2 separate regions of the Homo sapiens genome follow, and region 1 is linked to region 2. Evidence: promoter capture Hi-C in 16 types of primary human blood cells and fetal thymus (Javierre and others, 2016). All regions are on one chromosome and are shown on one strand. The core of a region is centred on a gene start or on the middle of the fragment in contact, and the rest is flanking DNA. Distances in the headings are between cores, read along the strand shown. Region 1 has its middle 15 kb from the start of CDK20. Region 2 holds the start of SPIN1 (spindlin 1).

Evidence for each region. Contacts are between HindIII fragments. The CHiCAGO score rates a contact against its expected background, and 5 or more counts as called.
Region 1: a fragment that was not itself captured here is called in contact with the fragment with the promoter of SPIN1 in region 2 in 8 of 17 cell types (monocytes, non-activated CD4 T cells, total CD8 T cells and 5 more); the score reaches 8.0 in monocytes.

The regions. Positions count from the first base shown.
Region 1 is chr9:87,957,330-87,961,719 of GRCh38, forward strand. No RefSeq gene overlaps it. Among named protein-coding and RNA genes, the nearest start is that of CDK20, 15 kb to the right of the region's middle. The HindIII fragment of the contact is 4,743 bases long and covers 1-3,867 here.
Region 2 is chr9:88,386,940-88,390,908 of GRCh38, forward strand. It overlaps SPIN1 (spindlin 1), which reads left to right and starts at 1,505. Exons shown (of 6, transcript NM_006717.3): 1 at 1,505-1,599. It overlaps LOC124902204 (a long non-coding RNA gene), which reads right to left and starts at 2,260. Exons shown (of 2, transcript XR_007061652.1): 1 at 2,173-2,260; 2 at 1-1,178. RefSeq lists an enhancer at 321-1,180 and a silencer at 1,258-2,157. The HindIII fragment of the contact is 9,781 bases long and covers 1-3,969 here.

The DNA.
Region 1 (4,390 bases), core at 246-2,745, 430 kb before region 2:
GAGAGTCAGACTAGATAATGTCCACAGGCCCTTTCAATCTTAAGTTCTTTGATACTATAACTCCATGGTTATACTTTGAAATGTGTTTGCAGCATCCTAGAGAAAAAAAATCTAACAATCAGAATGCACACACCAAGGCGACTAGAGGCTTGTATATTCCTACTTAACCATGACGTATCTACCACCCTCATGTTTAAATATACTTGTAATTCAAGTACAAAATATCTTAGTGGCCTCATTTTTTTTTTTTTTTTTTTGAGACGGAGTCTTGCTCTGTCGCCCAGGCCGGAGTGCAGTGGTGCAATCTCAGCTCACTGCACCTCTGCCTCCTGGGTTCAAGTGATTCTCCTGCCTCAGCATCCCGAGTAGCTGAGATTACAGGCACGTGCCACCATGCCTGCCTAATTTTTTTGTATTTTTAGTAGAGACAGGGTTTCACTGCATTAGCCAGGGTGGTCTCGATCTCCTGACCTCATGATCTGCCCACCTCGGCCTCCCAAAATGCTGGGATTACAGGCGTGAGCCACTGTGCCCGGCCCAGCCTCTCCTTTACACACACACACACATACACACCATGAATAGATACATATATACATGTGTATACACACACATATGTATTATATGTATGTGGGCGGCAGGATCAAGGGGGATGTGGTTAGGCTGTGGGTTTTCTATGAGGGAGAAGGGGAAGGTAAAAGTGTCGAGTGGTTTCTTGGCCATGTGCAGCCATATCAGTGCTTCTGTGTACCTGAAAACTGTAATTACGTTGTGGCCAGTGTGGTCACGGGCAGAGGTCGCAGCCTTTCTTGTTGATAGTCCCTCATTGGTTGTGAATTTAAATATTGTGTAGTTATGCCCTAGGGGGTGCAGAGTTCATATAATGTAATTAGGACTTGGGACACCATCTTGGCTTTTTTTGTTTTTGTTTTTTGAGACAGGGTCACGCTCTGTCACCCAGGCTGGAGTACAGTGGTGCAATCTCAGCTCAGTGCAACCTCTGCCTCCTGGGCTCAAGCCATCCTCCCACCTAAGCCTCCTGAGTAACTAGACCTCATGCCACCATGCCTAATTTTTGTATGTTTACTAGAGACGAGGTTTCATCATGTTGCCCAGGCAGGTCTTGAACTCATGAGCTCAAGCAATCCACCCACCTTGCCTCCCAAAGCGCCAGTATTACAGGCGTGAGCCACCATCCCTGGCTAGAGGCAGCATTTTGATGACTCAGGTCACCATTGTCATCTACATCGTTTCAGTAGCCCCCGTTTTAAAAGCTCATTATATCTTTCTATGATACCCACTGCTGTTACTTTGTAATGTTACTTTGTAATACCCATCGTTGCATTTGCTTTGTGGTACAAGAAGAGCCTTGATCTGACTGTGTAACTTGTGGCACACCCAAAGGCTGTAAAAGCTGTTTTGGTAACCCATTGTGACATTAGTAGAGGTTCCTGCCTCACATGGGTAAGCAAATGGATGGCCTGTGTAGATATCCCTTAGCATATTCATTGGCTCCTGTCACTGTAGGGGGAGGCCCTTTGAAGTTGATTTGCCAGTTCTGATAATGGCCTTCCTGTGAATTTCTCCTCCCAGGCAGTGAACCCAGTATCTAAATTTCTAGCATGGTACAGTCCCTAATAACCTTGCATAAATGTGTCTCTGCTGGGTTGACTCCTCTGTTAATAATTCCTTTTTGACCGGGCATGGTGACTCACGCCTGTAATCCCAGCACTTTGGGAGGCAGAGGCGGGTGGATCACTTGAGGTCAGGAGTTCTAGACCAGCCTGGGCAACATGGTGAAACCCTCGTCTCTACTAAAAATACTAAAATTAGCCAGGTGTGGTGGCACGTGCCTGTAGTCCCAGCTACTTGGCAGGCTGAGGCACAAGAATTGCTTCAACCCAGGAGGCAGAGGTTGCAGTGAGCCGATATTGCACCACTGCACTTCAGCCTAGGTGACACTGCAAGACTCCATCTCAAAGAAAAATAAAAAATAATAATTCATTTTTGTAACCCCATGATGCCCAAATGCCCTGACCTCTCCTCTTACATGCCCTTGCATGGGATAGGGTAGCTCATCCCAAAGCTCTAGGACTCTGCCTCCTTCAAGAGGCTTATCTGCTGGTATGCTATGGTTAGTTCATCAGCTTTGGTGTTGTGTCATGCCTCTTCCATGTCTTGTCTGGTATGAGCCAAGGTACGGTGCATCAAGGTAGGCAGAATGGGAGCCACTGTAAGTGTTAGTGCAGCATCTTGGCTCTCGAGTAAATACAAATTAATACCAGGCCAAACAGTAATTTTTCTCAGGCAAGTTTTAATGGGCTTGAGCTCAATCAAAGCAAGGGAGCAGTGCCCAGGAAAAGGACCCCAGTGCTACAGCCAAAAAGGGCTCAGCTCTTGTCATTTTAAGGAAGCTGAGGCAGAGAAAGGAATGACATAGAAGCTGTGAGAGTTAAAGAAAGAGGAAAGAAACACAAAAAGTGGCTCAACAGTCAAAGACAGGTTTATTTTGGAGAATGAACCTGAGAGGGGTTTCTGGCCGATTTCAGTCAGGAGCACTCTCTCTTACAGACTAAGAGTATTTAAGTGTTTTAGGGCAAGATAGCTTATCACAGGCTTGGAATGTTTCTGTGTGGAGGAGAAGTTTATTGCGGGGTTTGGAATGTCTCCAGCTGGAGGGGAGGTTATCTCGGGGCTGGCATGTGTCTGGTTGGGGAGGGGTTTATCTTAGGGGTTGGAATGTTTCTGGTTGGAGATGTCATTTGTGATTTATGGTCATGCTGACCTTAGCTGATGCCCTTTGGATTTAGGTGGTTTCTGATCAAGGGGAATTTTAAAATGGTGGTGCTTGTCCAAGATGGTGATGTTCCTGCTCTGTCAGAAGCCTGTTTAGGCAGTTTTCTTTGTGCCTGTACAGTGGGGTGTCATGCCCTAACATACATTGCATAATTAGAAAATGGTAGATAAGCCCCAATTTGGGCAGAGATTTTCGTATTACAGTGAGATTATGAGGAAAACTCAGTGAAAGGTCAGTGCTGAAGTCCATCTTGTCTTCAGCCAACTGGATCTGGTCCAATTCTCATAGGGAATGCCAGAGTTTTGTTTTAGTAAACTTGGAATATGGTCAGGTTCTTATCAGGAATGCTAGAGTCCGGCTTTTAGCAACCTTGGGAGACATCACTTAAGGCAATAAACAGTTTCTTCTATTTGTGGTTAAGAATTCAGCCTGATCAGCTAAGTTAGGAGAGGCTTCCCTTCTGCTATGTGACTTAGGTCAGCTTGTTAAGGGAGGCAAGAAGGTAGGGGAGGGAATATGCCTGGACATGTGAGCCCCATGAGCCTCGGTCTACAAAGACCAAGTCTCTTTCCTATACTGTCTCATAATGATTATTTTCCCTACATCTTTTTACCCTGAATATCTTGGCCTTGTATTTTCCAGCTCTGATATTGCCAAAGTCCCAACCAAGTAGTTAGCTCATTAGCCATTAACCAAGAGTTCATGAAGATAGAAACCTTGGGAAAATGGCGTATCTATTGCTAGGAGTAATGCACATATGGAATGAGTGTCTGAATGGGGTTAAAGGCTGTAGCTCTCCTTGGTCTGAATTCCTTATGCCCTGTGCTCCCTCATCAGTAATGAGAGGCCATTGGTTCTCTTGTTTTGAGATTGCTGACCATCCTCCCTCCAGTCCCCACTAAGCAAGAGGCAGAGGCATTTTCAGGATTTTGGCAAGTTGACCTCAGTGGCAGGGTATGTGGCTATTTTCTCATGGAATGTTACACTCCAGTAGGACTAAATGTGAGTTGATTCTGTAAATACCATTTCCATTGTAGTAAGAAGGTTTCTGTTGCTGATCCAGTTTTACAGTAAGCTTTTTCCATTACCCAGGGCATAATAGGAATCTTGGTTCATAGGGTAAATGGGCTCTGCCCTAGTAAGGGCTTCAATTTTGATAACTAAAAAGCAGAAAATTTGTGGGTGACTGGATACGAAGAAATATGGGAGGAAGGGATGTATTGGTGCCAGAATCCCAGTGTTGATTGAATCCCTTTATTGATGTGGGAGGTTGGAGAGCTAGGAGATTCTCTTTTGCCAAATTGGGAATAGTTTACCTCTCTGAGTTCTAGGTGTAGCCCAACACTTTAACAGGTCAGGAGGGGTCTTGCACCTTATGTGGGGCAACTGTCCATCCCCTCAGTGGGGTGCTTGCTCACAGCTGTGATGACCTGTGAAACAAAGTTTTGGTCAGGACCAGTGAGGAGGATGTCACTGATATGATGCCAAAGCTAAGTTTCTTGGGGGAAGTGTGGGGCAAGCATCGGGGTCCTCTTAGCAAAGTCCAGATGTAAGTAAAGGCCTTTCACCACAGTGCAGGCAGTCAGGTAAAGCTGT
Region 2 (3,969 bases), core at 255-2,754:
TGCGCGCCTGTAATCCCAGCTACTCGGGAGGCTGAAATGTGAGGATTGCTTGAACCCAGGAAGCGGAGGTTGCAGTGGGCCGAGATCATGCCACTGCACTGCAGCCTGGGGAACAGAGTGAGACTCCGTCTAAAAAAACAAAAAAGACATTAAACACACAAATGAAAGTGAGTAATTTCTCAACACTTGGTAACTTGTAAGTACAGCGATACACTTTTATATCTCAGTTTTGAAATTAGCTCTCTAGTTGGCCTGTGAACGTCCCATGCCTGCCAAGTGTGTCATCTGAGACAAGCACTTCAATTTGTTTGAGCAGGCATCTATCAATCTTATTTGTTAGAAAAGGTGCCAGTGAAACCCCAAAGAGTATTGCTAACTAATAACTGTGCTGCAGTTTAGAGTGTTCAAGGTGCTTTCCAGTAACATGTTCTGGAATTTGATCTGACAACGCTTTGGGAGGCGGTTTATTACGATGAGGCTGCGCTGTCGCACTCGAGGAACCAGGTCAGTGACCTGCTCCAGGACACGGGACTGGCGGGGAGGGGAGAGCGCCTGGACTCAGCCTCCAAGTCTCGCACTCGACTCTGCAGGAGTAAAAACTATTCTTGATCCTACCTCTCTCCCTTCTGCAAACAAGCAACAAAATGCTGAAAAGGCATCTTAACTGAAACGGAAGTCAAATGAATTCGCGTGCGATCATGGGAATTTTTGGCTCCTAACCTTGCGAGTAGAGCTGGGTGAGTTCCATTTGTGGTGGGGGAGTGGAAACAGGTTTCTGGGCTTGCAGAAGCCACATCCCGTCCCCACACAACCTAGGACAGGCCAGGTACTTGTAGGTGAGGCTCCGGGGCTCCAGCTAACCTGAGCTACCTGGGCTGGGCTTTGTGCGGGGAGGCAGCAAGCGGGGTGAGCCGGCGACGACGCCGGCCTCTACGCAGTGCGGTGGTGAAGACGTCTCTTCCAGGGAGTCACAGGAAGCAAATCCATCCTTTTAAAGGGCTCGCGTCCCGCGGCCCTGAACCGGCGCGCTGGAGCAGTAATGCGACGTTCTCCGAGGTTCAAGGCTCACGGCCCAGCCCTGTGATCCAGTTTCCTCAGTCTTCGCGGTGTGCACCACTCAGGACGACTTGCGGCTTACGTCCAGGACAAAGGGGGCTTGTCCTTTCTTCAACGTCCTACTGCGCAAAAACGAAGCCCTTCTCAGGCTGCCTGCCTTCCAGGAAAAGCTGCGCCCCCTCAGGAACCTGTGCCCCGCGCGCCTGCCGCCGCCCATTCCCGGCGCGCACCTGGCAGTCCCGGGCTCGAGCCCCGCCCTGCCGCCAGCCAGGTGAGAGGGGCCAGGCCCCGCCCTCGCCGGCCCCGCCCCGCCCCACTGCGCCTGCGCAGTCGGCCGTCGGCGCCAGGCGCCGGGGCGGCGCGGCCGTCGCAGTTCGGCGGGCGCAGTGCGCGTGCGCCCTGACTGTTGGGGGGCGGGCGGCGTCCGCGGCGAGGGAGCGGGGGCGGGGAGGCGCCGTCTGGCTCAGGCTGGGGCCGGCGGGAGCGCGAACGAGCGACGGCGGAACCCGTGGGCCTGTGGACTGCAGCCTCGGCGGTCAGCAGGTGAGGCCCGCGCAGGGCGGGCGTGGGTCGTGAGGGAGTGCGGGCTGCGGGCGGGCCAGCGGTGCGGCGGTCTGCCCGGGGGCGCAGGTGAGCGCGGCCCGCGCGGGGCCCGGCGGAGCATTGTCCAGCGGGCGGCGCCCGCATAGCGCCCCCTGCCGGCTGGGCCGCGGCGGGGACCCGGGCTGGGCGGGCCTGGGCCTCGGGGCGGGCGCGCGCTCCTTTGTTCGCCGGCCCCTACTCCTCCGTGCCCCCATCCCCGCCGCCCCCCGCCAACATGGCCGCCACCCTCTCGTCCCCAGTTCCCCGGCCGCCGCCGGCCCCTTAGCGCGCGCTTTGTTTGGAGCCGGGCGGGGAGGCCGGCGGGCAGGGGGCGGCGGCGCTGCGCAGTCGGGCGCGGGGAGGGGGCGCTGCGCCAGAATGCAGGCGGGGAGGGGGAACGTTGCATAATCCCGGGCCGGCGACGGGGGCGGGGCGGGGGGAGGGGCGGGACCCCGGCGCGACGGGTCGGGTCACCCCGGGGACGCGGGCCTGCCCTGGGGCCACCCCTCCCAGGCCCGGGGGATGGCCGCGGACCTTGTAAGTTGCAGGCTCCGCGGTTCGCGGCGCCGGAACGCCCACCGGCCAGTCCTCGCGCCCGCGCAGCCCCTTTCCTGATGCGCCGTCTCTTCGCCGCCCTCCGTGGGGGCGCGGCGAACGGGTTGCGTGCTCTGGAGAGAGACAGGCACTTTTCCTCTCCATCGTGAGTGACCTTGGGTGTATTCGTCAAGGAATGTGTTGAAACGAATTGTGCGATGCGGGAACTGCGCAGCGCCTCGGGTTTGGCTTTCTCGAGCATTTTATTGCATTGATTGTGCGTTCTCGATTTTACAGAGGTTCGTTTTGAGTAATGGCTTCAGTAATGTCATCGTATACGCATTTCAAAGTTTGTTTATGGAATTGTTTTTACATTTATTCTCTTTTTACTTATAATTTTTGAATCAGATTTTGTGTTTTGGAGAGATTTTCCGTACGTGGTGGAAGTGTTTTCACTCATGGTAAATATGGATTGTTTGGCAATTTTATCACGTTAATCACAAAACAATACCAGGAACATTTAAATGTCTTAAAGGATTTCACTCTACATGACTTGTGCCAGAGACGACACACGTACCAAAACGCGATTACCTGTCTTAACTTTTTTTCTATTGGAATTTTCTGGAAGGAATTCCATGCAATCCGAAAGGATTAATGGAGGGTACAGTAATTGCTTTCTACATCGCTTTTGTTAAGCAGTGAAAATTAAACTTGGAGATTTATACCTGGATATACTGAGTTTTTTTTAACACTCTTTTGAAGTGAAATTTTGGAAAGGGCAGGTGAAATGAGGCTTCTTCCAACCTCCCCACTCTCCCCCCTCAGCTTTAGTTAAAAGGCAAACACCAAAATATTGTAGTACCTGGTAATTTACAGAACGTTCGTTATCAGATTTGATAATTATATATTAAGGTTGTAAAGAATGTGTATGCCAGAATTATAGGTAGTAGATCCTAGATTCTTAGGAAAAATAGTTTCTTTATAATCTTTTGAGTAGTGAAATGGTTACTTTTACAATGGTTATGAACTGGGTCAAGGCAAAAGGGCCACTATATGTCTTCAGTCATCTTTCTATGCCTGAAATCCAGGAAACAGTGAAAATGGATGTTCCCTGGAACAGCCATTGCGATGCCATATGTTGGTCATTGGTGTCCTTAAAGTGTATCTCAGATAATTGTGTGTCTCCCTTACTTGTGAACTGAGGGGTCACAATATTGATGTGCCTGATGTGTGCCCCTCTGCATTTCGTGGGTAGTGTCTCAAATTTGGCTATCATATTGATGAGAGTTACTAATTTGGTTTTAGCTGCCAGAGGTTTAGGTGGTTTTCACTTCCAGTGACTTACCTGATTGCACATAGTTACAACGTTACTGGTTGCACTCCTTCATTGCTAGCATCTTTTTTCTAGTATATTCGATATACATTCTTTTGGTTTATCCTTTAAAATATTTGCTGAGATAGCATTTAAATGTTAATGCTGTATTTATATTTGTTGGATGCTTAATTCAATGTGTCTTCTTTCCCTTTCCATGAATGAAAAGAAATTGGAAGAAGAGAATCAACTATTTCGTGCAAGTATTTTGTTCAGTTTAGAAGATGTTATGGTATTGTGAAAACAATATTCTGGAGTTAGACATGGAATCACAATGGCCTTCCAAGTCAGAACAGTCTGGGTTGAAATTGACTCCTTACTGGTCCAAAGCCACATAACTGATTCATCATGCAGCCTTTTTTTAAAAAAAGTTTTTTTTTAAAGCTACTCAAATATGTCAGTTTTATTTTCTCTGTACACACATT